Linked DNA regions of Homo sapiens: region 1 is linked to region 2. Evidence: promoter capture Hi-C in 16 types of primary human blood cells and fetal thymus (Javierre and others, 2016). All regions are on one chromosome and are shown on one strand. The core of a region is centred on a gene start or on the middle of the fragment in contact, and the rest is flanking DNA. Distances in the headings are between cores, read along the strand shown.

Region 1 (5,604 bases), core at 817-3,316, 160 kb after region 2:
TAGGAGACTCTGTCTCAAAAAAAGAAAAAGAACAGAGACCCTGGGCCCACAGTGCCTTTGTTCAGACCCAATTACTGGCTATGCGAGTGGGCAAGTGACTTCCTTTCTAGGCCTCAGTTTCCTAATCTGTAAACTGGGGACAATGATGGGAGCCATCACATGGGGCTGTTATGAGGACTCAATGGGTTAAGGATGTGCCACTCTTGGAACAGTGTCTGGCATGGTGGAGGAGTACACGAGGGCTGGCTGTTCTTTCCTCTGGCAGGCAGGCAACATCGTGTTGCCTACATAATGGGCTGTTGGGCTGATGTTGTGGGGGGCTTAGGATCCTGTCTGGCAGAGGGTCTAGACTCAATGCATGGTAGCCCTAATGATTATGCAGGGACCCCAGGCCTGAGGCCATAGGTGGTCCCAGGATGCTGACATCTACCTGTCCAGCATCACTACTCACTCATTAGCCTGTGACTCCCTTCCCTAGAAGGCCCCTGGTGTCACTCTCTGTGATCCATCCAGCCCAACCTGCTGAGCCAATGGTTCTGTCTCAGAATCAAATTCTGACCCACATTGAGACCTCCCAGTTAGACCCCAAAATATAAATTTTTTAAAAGCACTTTTTTGTTATGCATCTTTCCTGATAGTAAGTGGGTGCTTATAGCAATACTCCAGTGCAATTCAACCATCATATGATAAGTGACCACTAAGGGTCAGATGTGATTCTTGACATCAGGGATAGGGCATTATATTCACTTTTTTGTGGAAGCTGTCAAAAATCACATTTGTGGGCCGGGTGTGGTGGCTCATGCCTGTAGTCCCAGCACATTGGGAGGCAGAGGCGGGTGGATCACCTGAGGTCAGGAGTTCAAGACCAGCCTGACTAACATGGTGAAACCCCGTCTCTACTAAATACAAAAAAAATTAGCAGGGCATGGTGGTGCATGCCTGCAATCCCAGCCACTTGGGAGGCTGAGGCAGGAGAATCGCTTGATCCCAGGAGGCGGAGGTTGCAGTGAGCCAAGATTGCCCCATTGCACTCCAGCCTGGGCAACGGAGCAAAACTCCATCAAAAAAAAAAAAAAAATCACATTTGTGGCTTAAAACAACACAAATATATTTGCTTACAGTTCTGGAGGTCCTCAGTCTGAAATGGGTCTCTCTGGGCTGAAATCAAGATGTCGGCAGGGCTGCCCTTCTTTTGGCAGCTGTAAGGGAGAATCCCCTTCCTTCCCTTTTCCAGCTTCTAGAGGCTGCATGCTTTCCTTGGCTTTGTGGCCCTTTCTCTATCTTCAAATCCAGCAACACTGTCAAGCCACATCCTTCTCACACTGCCATTTCTTTGGTTCCCTCCTGCCTCCCTCTTCCACTTTTGATGACCCCCGTGATTACCTTGGACCCACCTAGATAATCCAGGATCATGTCCCTATTTTAAAGTCAGCTGATTAGCAACTTTCATTCCATCTGCAACCTTCCTTTCCCTCTGCCAAGTAACATAACATATTCAGAGGTTCCAGGGATTAGGATTTGGGGGGGGGGGGGGTTATTCTGCCCACCACAGGTACTAATATTTGTTTGTTGTCCGTGGTCCATGGTATTCCCAGCTTGCATTGCCACTTTACAAACATTCATCTACTCATTCATTCATTCATTCATTCATTCATTCAGCAAGGACTGGTGGAGGGCTCCCATCTACTAAGTATCTGGGGCTAAACAGTGATCAAGCTTCCTTGCCCTCAGGAAGCTCATCGTTCAGGGCACAGATGAAATTGCACACAGACAACCACTGTATGGAGTGAGGGAGGGTTGTTGAGCCACCAGCTTCACTTCTGTGTATCTGTTTCTTCATCTGTAAAATCAGAAAAATAAAGCTACAGCTAGCTCTCTAAATATTGAGTGAGTCAAAGGAGATAACATATGTAGGTAATGCCCTCTGCATTATCCCTGGCACAATAAATGGCAGATTATTATTACAACAAAGCAGGGGGCTCAAAGGGGGCCCAGAGGAGGCGAGTCAGGGAATGAAGGGGTTAGTTGAGGTCTAAATGGACACTCCAGAGATAAATGGGAGGTGTAGAAAATGGAAGGAAGAGGTCTCCAGACAGAGAGAATGCACATGCAAAGACCCCACGGTGAACAAGCCCCTCAGTCCTCACAACCCCAAAGCCCCACCAGCTCTCTTCTCGTCATGTGCATGAGTTGTGCTCCCTCCCCAGAAGTCTTGAAGCCCCAGGACCCCCCTGACTTCTCAGCACCCAGTTCCAAGGCAGCTGGATGTGTCACAGCACCTACTGCACTCATCACAAGGATTCTCTTTGCCCCCACGCTTTGCACCTGAAACTACGTGATTCATCGTCCTCACAGCTACTAATCAATGGATTCAAACGGCACCAGGCCCTGGGCTGTTACCCACTCACTAATTCCTCAAAGCTTTATCATTAGACCCACTTGAGAAACAAAGAGATCTGCAAGGTTAGGTTACTTGCTCCAGGTCACCCAGGTAGTGGATGGTGGAACCCAGGGCTGTCTGTCTCCAAGCCATGAAGCCTGCACAGGCCAGCAGCCCAGGTCTTTAATGCTCAGCTCTATGCATGGAGGATATATGGTGAGGAAAGCGGGGTGAGTTGAGACTTTAGAAGAATAGCTGTTCTGGCCAGGCGCAGAGGCTCATGCCTGTAATCCCAGTACTTTGGGAGGCTGAGATACGAGAATTGCTTGAGTCCAAGAGTTTGAGACCAGCCTGAGCAACATGGGGAAACCCTATCTCCACAAAAAATACAAGAACTAGCCAGGTGTGGCGACATGCACCTGTAGTCCCAGCAACTCAAGAGGCTGAGGTGGGAAGATCGATTGAGCCTAGGTGGTTGAGGCTACCGTGAGCTATGATCACACCACTGCACTCCAGCCTGAGCAATGGAATGAGACCCTGTCTCAAAAAGAAAAAAAAAAAAAAAAAAAGAATAGCTGTTCTATCCTAGGGTCATAGAGTCAGCCTAGTAGGGACCAGAGCCTGGGGCAAGGGGCAGGGCAGAGGCCACAGCACTTGCTAAAAAAGAACAGACTCCCTTCTTTGCCAGAATAAGTTGTAATAGTAATGAGTTCCAAGAAAAGAAAGGACAAACAGGCTTAGATGCTTAAGGGAGGAGGGTTCCATACCGTGCCCTCCCATCCTCAGCAGGGCCTGGTCCTGCCCAAGAGTAGGGACATCTGACTCAGAACCAGCACAGGAGCAGAGGGAAGGCTGAGCCTCTCAGGTCATCCCTTCCTTGACTGGAGACAAAGCTGTGCAGACAAACAAGAAAAAAAGCCCATGTTGGGTTCATGGTGTACACTTGTGGCTTCTGGTCCCTTCATTTTCATAGTCAGCGACATCAAGCCAACTGTTTTCTCTTGGAGAGCACAGACCTCCACCCACACTGTCATAATGTCCAAACTACCTTCTTGGCATTAAATCTTTCTTTTATGAAATCATGGTGATAACAGATGATTTCTGCGTGTATTAGGTAAAATAAATGATTGGCATCTGAACAGTAAAGAGTTAGCTCAGCAGGCTGGTATTGCTCAAACCCTGCACATTCCAAAGAAGGGGCTGGCCCTTGACTCCTTCTGGGAGATAACCTCAGCCCTTGTAGCATCCTGTTTGATAACAATGTTTTTGTACGTCTGGGGCCTCCTGGCACACTGTATCAGTTTGACCAGAGTTTATGCTAACAATGTAACTTGTGATGAATGCCTGTTTTTATTTGTCTGACACCACTGTGTCCGTTTGATCTCTGGGGGCCTGGAGACTGGTGGCTAAGGTTGGTCACATGGGTGATGCATACTTACATGACTGACCTCAATAAAAACCCTGGATGCTAAGGCTTGGGTGAGCTTCCCTGGTTGGTAACACCTTGCATAAGTCATCATACATTGTTGCTGGAAGAATTAGTGTGTTCCCAGGTGAATCCACTAGGAAGGGACACCTGTAAGCATGCACCTGATATCCCCGCGACTTTGTTTTTGTACCTTTTCTTTTTACTGATTTTGATCTGTATCCTTACACCACAATAAGTGATAAATACGAGTACAATGGCTTTTCTGAGTTCTGTGAGTCCTAGCAAATCATGAAGCCTGAGGGTGATCCTGGGGACTCTCAAGCCAGCATTCTAAGTTGGCTCCCCAGTTTCTGTTATTTGGAAACTTGATTGAAACCTGATTCAACCCAACCCTGTTGTCATGGTGCTCAGGACACTGGGGAAGCTGCAGCCCCTGAGAACGGAGAGTGCCCCTGGGTGGTGAGCCATAGAGCTGAGTCTGCCCCAGGTCTGGGGAGTGGCCCATGCCCAGCTCTGTGGGTGGCTTTAGCTCAGGCCCAAGATGAGGCTGGGCCAATGACAACCCAAGAAGGATGAGCCTGCCAAAAGGGGGCCCCTCTCCAGCTCTTCAGGAGAGATGTTTCTCTGGACATACGGGTTTTCCTAAGGAAAGAGAAGGCTTTGCCCAGCTCCAAAGAGCAAGTCTCATCTTTTCGTCTGCTTTCGGCCAGATTCCTACCTGTCCTAGAAACTCCCTGGAGCCCACAAGGGAAACCGTGCCTCCCCTTTTTCCCCTTCGGGTTCTCCCCTCCTGCAGAGAGCAGGGTAGGTCAGCCCCTCAAGCACACATTTGGGCTGCAGGAGCACTATGATGGAGGAGAGCCTGGATGGTCACCCGCCACTCTCCATGAGGGGTGCTTTTCCCTAGACCAAGTCCCACCTTTCAAGGGAAACTGAGACAAGGAAACCTTAGCTCTGGTCCACGTGACAAAGTGTAGAGTTTAAAACAGAAGCTTCTGAAACTGAGGTCAAATAGTTCATCCCCGGCCTGCCTCAATTTTTTTTGGTTGTTGTTGTTTTATTTTGAAATGATTGTAGATGTACAGGAAGTTGCAAAAAAATTAGTACAGAGAGGTCCAGTGTAGCCTTCATTCAATTTCCCCCAATGATAACATCTTACATAACCATAACAAAGATCAGGCTGGGCACGGTGGCTCACGCCTGTAATCCCAGCACTTTGGGAGGCCGAGGTGGGTGGACTGCTTGAGGTCAGGAGTTCATGACCGCCTGGCCAACATGGTGAAACCTTGTATCTACTAAAAATACAAAAATTAGCTGGATGTGGTGGTGCACATCTGTAGTCCTGGCTACTCCGGAGGCTGAGGCAGGAGAATCACTTGAACCTGGGAGGCGGAGGTTGTAGTGAGCCAGAATCAGGCTGCTGCACTCCAGCGTGGGTGACAGAGGGAGACTCCATCTCAAAAACAAACAGACAAACAAACAATAAAAACACACACACACCATAATACAAGATCAAAACAAAACCTCAGGCTTTGAAATGAGGTGGAGGTTGTAGTGAACCAAGATCGTGCCATTGCACTCCATCCTGGGCAACAAGAGAAAAACTCCATCTAAAAAAAAAAAAAAACAAAAAAACTAATACAATGTAAATGCTGTGTAAATAGTTGTTATGCTGTATTGTTTTTTATTTGCATTACTTTATAGTTACATTATTTTATTTTTTAATATTTTTGATTTGTGGTTGGTTGAATCCATGGATGTGGAACCCATGGACACAGAGGGCCACTGTATATAT
Region 2 (5,686 bases), core at 2,426-4,925:
ACATAACGGTACACATTGGCAGTGTCTGCCACCTTTCATATTCATCAGCAGTTCTCAAAGCCTGGTCTGGGACCCCTGGGAGTCCTCAACACACTTTTGGGATCTGCAAGGTTAAAGCTATTTTCATTTTCTTTTCTTTTTTTCTTTTTTGAGACAGGATCTCACTGTGTCACCCAGGCTAGAGTGCAGTGGTGGGATCATAGCTCTCTGTGGCCTCAACCTCCCGGGTTCAAGCAATTCTCCTGCCTCAGCCTCTGGAGTAGTTGTGACTACAGGCGCCTGCCACTACCCCCCGGCTAAATTCTTTTATTTTTAGTAGAGATGAGGTCTTGCTATGTTCCCAGGCTGATCTAGAGCCCCCTAGCTCAAGAGATCCTCCCTCCTCAGCCTCCCAAAGTGTTGGGATTACAGGCATGAGCCACTGCGCCCAACTTTAAAACTATTTTCATAAGAATGTGAAGACATTATTTGCATTTTTGCTCTCTTCATTAATGTATAGTAGAATTTTCCAGAGGCTCTAGGATGTCATCACTGTGATGGCTAGTAGTATGTGTGACCTTGTGTATTCCTTTTTTATTTTTTATTTTTATATTTTTTTAAGATGGAGTCCTACTCTGTCGCCCGGCTGGAGTGCAATGGTGCAATCTCGGCTCACTGCAACCTCTGCCTCCTGGGTTCAAGCGACTCCCCTGCCTCAGCCTCCTGAGTAGCTGGGATTATAGACGCATGGCACAATGCCCAGCTAATTTTTCTATTTTTAGCAGAGATGAGGTTTTGCCATGTTGGCCAGGCTGGTCTTGAACTCCTCACCTCAAGTGATCTGCTTGCCTCGGCCTCCCAAAGTGCTGGGATTACAGGAGTGAGCCACCACACCCTACCGGTGACTCCTTTTTCAGCCATGCATCCAACCACACTTGGCCCTGGCAGGTGCTGAGGTAGGGCCTGGGATTCCAAGGATGGATTTCAGGAGCCCATCAGAGTGACATGCTGAAGAGTGATGGCCATATAGAGGGATATGTGACACAGGAAGTGTGCCCAAAGTATAAGAGGAGGGGTCACGAATTCTGCCCAGGACATAAAGTCTCGGAGGGCTTCCCCCTGAGGGCAACCTTGCATATGAGCCCCAAAAACAGTTTCCAAACCATGACCCTAAGAACTGATTGTAACATATAGAATTATCATTAAAGGAGCACAGAGGACCTCTCCATGATGGAGCACATATGACCAGACATCTCCATTAATTGACACTTGATGACTTTGCTGGAACAATGACAGACTGATTTTAGCAAGATGATGTCTGGAAGGTCACTAAGTGCATCAGAACCACTAGAGACAAGATCCTTATCTTTGGTCTGAGTTCTTTTTGGGACATTGGCAATCTACGGTGCAAGGCATTTGCCAACCTTCCCTAACCCCACAAGAGTTTAGGAGTGTGTGATGACTTTTGCTTTTTCAAAGCTCTAGTTGGCTAGTTTATCTGACCTCACAAAACCCTTGGAAAGCCAAGATGTAATGAGGAAATCTGACCCAGAGATGAAATGCTTGTCTTGGCCCCTTAGCTGTGGCTTTTTAAGGAGGGAGAGGACCTTTCTGTGTTTTCTGGGTATCCCCTGGTCTCTTTGGGGCTGCAAGAAGACAGAGAGCTGCAGGAGGCTGAGGGAGCTGGAGGACTCCCCTCTATGTGTGTGCGTGTATGTGTGTGCAAGTGTGTGAGTGTGTGTGCATGTGTGTGTTTGAGAGTGTGTGTGTGCGTGTGTGTATGTGAGGGTGTGTGTGGACTTTCTCATGTCTCCCTTCTAACCCCAGGGAGGCAGGGCAGGGCGGGCTGGGACGGCAGCAAGGTGGGACAGAGCCTGCTTTAGCTAGCTGTCTCCCCTCCACCTGCCCTCTGTAGGCTGGAATTCTTAGTCCTGGGCAGCCTAGAGGTCAAGGGAGGAGGGGACCGCAGCTGCCACTTCTGCCATCTGAGGCTGTGGCTGCCTCCAAGACACCTGCAGCAGTAGAAGCCCCCTGCTCCCGGGACCAGCCCTGCAGTTGGGGGTTGTAGTTTGCAAAAGAGCAGTATTCTCCTGGAAGGACAGGGCAGGGGCTGGGAGTGAAGAGGCAGGCCTCTTGCTCACCCCTGTACCCAGAGGGCCTTATTTTCCTAACCACACTCCCACCCTAAGGATTGGCCCTGACTTTAGTTTCCTCCATCCACGTCCCATGATTCACTTCTTTGCCTGGTTCCTGCCACCAATGCAGGCCGCCCGGTGCAAAGTGCCGTGAGTCATCTTCCCTGAGCCCCTCCTTGGACATTAAGGACCACTTCATCTTCCCGGATGATCCCCTTCTGTGCCACGTGTGCAGCTAAAGTCAGAGGGAGGAAAGCAGCACACTCACTGGTGGAAGAATAGAGAAGGCCGAGCAGCACCAGGAGCACCCCTCGCATCTTGCCATCCCCAGAGAGACCCGCCGCGGACACCATGGGCAGCTGGGGAAACAAAACCCAATGACTCCATCCTCTTCCCAAACACATGCAGGGTTTTCTATGCCTCTTTTTTCCATCCTCTTCCCAAACACACATGTTCCCTCCCAAACATCAGAGGCTCCCCCTCTTTCTACTAACAAAGGTTCCAAGATGTAGGGCACTGACCTGTCTTATCCCTAGTGCTTGGTTCTGTGTGGTAAAGAGGCAGGACCAGTTGGCCCGCACTGTGGTTTGTGAGATGGCCAGAGAAGAGAGGGCAGCTTACTCTTGTCAGTTTTCTTCTCAATCCAGCCCAAGCCCCTGAGCACCCCAGAGAGTTGGGTCTCTGAAAAGGGCTGCTTTTTGACTCGTGGAATTCAACCCTTGCCTTAACTCTGTAGCCATAAAATGCTGCTGAAAGAAAAGTAGAGTTTTAGTGGAAGCCCACCCTGGGATTAATGCCTCTGCTGTGGTTTTACCCTTCTAAACTCTGCTGGCTAAAAGAACGCTAGGGCTTCTGTTAACTGTTAACAGCCTGTTTTTTTGTTTTTTATTTTATTTTATTTTTTTTGAGACTGAGTCTCGCTCCCTTGGCAGGCTGGAGTGCAGTGGCACGAGCTTGGCTCACTGCAACCTCTGCCTCCCAGGTTCAAGCGATTTTCCTGCCTCAGCTTCCTGAGTAGCTGGGACTACAGATGTGCGCCACCACGCCCAGCTAATTTTTGTATTATTTTGTAATATTTTGTAATATTTGTATTTTTAGTACAGATGGGGTTTCGTCACGTTGGCCAGGCTGGTCTCGAACTCCTGACCTCAGGTGATCCACCCGCCTCAGTCTCCCAAAGTGCTGGGATTACCAGCGTGAGCCACCGTGCCCGGCCAATAGCCTGTATCTTTACATAGGAACAGCCCCAGCATTTAGCTTAGTTCATTTGCAAAACCGCGGTAGGAAGTAGACACTCGAGTTATCGCCATTTTACAGATTCAGAAACTGATACTCAGAGACATCAACTAGCCAGTCCAAGGTCACACAGCTGTCAAGCAATGCACAGAAGCCCAAGGAACCCATGTGCACAGTTCTAAGTCACCATGTTCCACTCATGACACTGGATGCCTCTTGTCCTCAGAATGGTCCTCAGAGTTCGTCCATGAACTGTTCCTGCTCAAGGAGAAATGAACTCAGGCTGGCCTGACACAGTAGAGTTCAACAGAAGGATTTCTTCTACTGCCTTGGGAAGAATGTTCCATTGTGGCATCACGGTTACCATGGCACCACCAAGCAACTGTCTGGACATGGGGACTTACGAGGAGCTAGGATGAAAGGCCTCCTTGTTGCTTAGCCTTGGCAGGGCTCTTCTGGAAGCCAGGCTCTCTCCTAGTCTGAGAAGGCAAGCTTTTTGCTGGATTACAAAGTCTTCTCTGGTCGTGGCCACGGTCTGTCTACCCCACTCAGCGCCCGCCCTGTGTCCACACATGCTTGTCAGACTGGACTGAGGAAGCCCACAACTGGGGTGGGTTTGGAATTTCCAGTCCCCGTCAGCATCTTACACTCCCAGGGTGGTTTCTTTCAGACTTAGCCCAGTTTTCTTTAGCCTCTCAGTTTCCGGGTCCAATCTAAGCTACCAGACCAGCTCTGCCAAACCAGAGGCCCAGATGGGATCTGCCACTCCAGCCACTGTGAGCAGCTTTGGTTTCAGCCCAAATGCCAGGACTCGAGAAGTGTCGACAAGGTTGAGGTAAGATGTTAATTCCACGGAGCCACAGGGGGAGGGTGGGCGCACAGGCCTCTGGTGCAGACGCTCAGAAGATCCTTACTGGATGGGTAGATGAATGGCTGATGGAAGGCAGGAAGGCTGGTGAGAAAGTGGAAACTGGCTGGGCACGGTGGCTCACGCCTATAATCCCAGCACTTTGCGAAGCCGAGGCAGGCAAATTGCTTGAGCTCAGGAGTTTGAGGCCAGACTGGGTAACATGGTGAGACCCTGTCTTTTACCAAAAATACAAAAATTTAGCCAGGCGTGGTGGCACACACCTATAGTCCCAGGTACTCGGGAAGCTGAGGTGGAGGTTGCAGTGAGCTGAGATCGCACCACTGCACTACAGCTTGGGCGACAGAGTGACAGCCTGTCTCAAAATAATAATAATAATAATAAAGTGAGGCCTGAGTCCAAAGGGAGCCGCTACCTCCTTCCCCCATGGTTCCCCTGATGTCCTGCCGGCTTCACCACCCTCCCTCACCTTTAACCCTGGGCAGGGGGGCGGGGGTATTGGCTTCTGCTACAAGAACAGAAAATTTTTGGCAGTGGGAGAAGTGCGAGTTGATTCTTTAATTTGTTCCACATCACAGGTATCAAAAAGCTGTATTTTAAATTTTTATTTTTTATTGTTTTTAGAGACAAGTTCTTGCTCTGTTGTCCAGGCTAGAGTACAGTGGTGCAATCACAGCTCACTGCAGCCTCGAACTCCTGGGCTCAAGTGATCCTCCAGCCTCAGCCTCCCAAGTAGCTGGAACTACAGGCCTGTGCCACCAAGTCTGGCTAATTTTTCATATTATATTTTTTTGAAGAGATGGGGTCTCACTGTGTTGCCCACGCTGGTCTCGAACTCTTGGGCTCAAGTGATCCTCCCACCTAAACCTCCCAAAGCATTAGCCATTATATAGATATGAGCCACTGCACCCGGCCCTCAAAGAGCTTTCATTACCATATGTTTCCTCCCTCACAATCCCCAGTCACCCTGGCAGGACAAAGGCATTTCCTGAGCTTTCCAGGTGAGAACGTGGTGGCCCAGAATGTGTTTCTCATTCAGTTGTTCTTTGCTTAATACCCGTATCCAGCCGGGCACGGTGGCTCTCACCTGTAATCCCAGCACTTTGGGAGGCCGAGACAGGCGGATCACGAGGTCAGGAGATCGAGACCATCCTGGCTAACACGGTGAAACCCTGTCTCCACTTAAGACCAGAAGTCTTAATTTTCATGAACTCACATGTATTCATCTTATTCAGTTAGGACTCTTTGTGTCTTGTTTAAGAAATTCTTCCGTAGCTCAGCATCAGAGATCTAGTCTACTCTATCTTCTTCTCAAACCCTTGAAGTCTTGTTTTTCACATGTAAGTCCTCAACTGTATGGATTCATTTTTTGTGCATGGTGTGGATACTTAGTTATGCCAGCATCATTTGTCACAAGTCTCCAATGTGACTCCAGCACATATCAAAGTATAAATTTCTTTGTTGAACT

The links. Contacts are between HindIII fragments. The CHiCAGO score rates a contact against its expected background, and 5 or more counts as called.
Region 1: a contact is called between a fragment that was not itself captured here and the fragment with the promoter of PRSS54 in region 2, in 1 of 17 cell types (M1 macrophages). The highest score is 5.2, in M1 macrophages.

The regions. Positions count from the first base shown.
Region 1 is chr16:58,452,724-58,458,327 of GRCh38, forward strand. All of the region lies in intron 2 of LINC02137 (long intergenic non-protein coding RNA 2137), which reads left to right. Among named protein-coding and RNA genes, the nearest start is that of LINC02137, 34 kb to the left of the region's middle. The HindIII fragment of the contact is 705 bases long and covers 1,715-2,419 here.
Region 2 is chr16:58,291,350-58,297,035 of GRCh38, forward strand. It overlaps PRSS54 (serine protease 54), which reads right to left and starts at 3,676. Exons shown (of 7, transcript NM_001305173.2): 1 at 3,538-3,676; 2 at 2,636-2,860; 3 at 2,383-2,473. The coding sequence starts at 2,467. The HindIII fragment of the contact is 4,073 bases long and covers 1-3,840 here.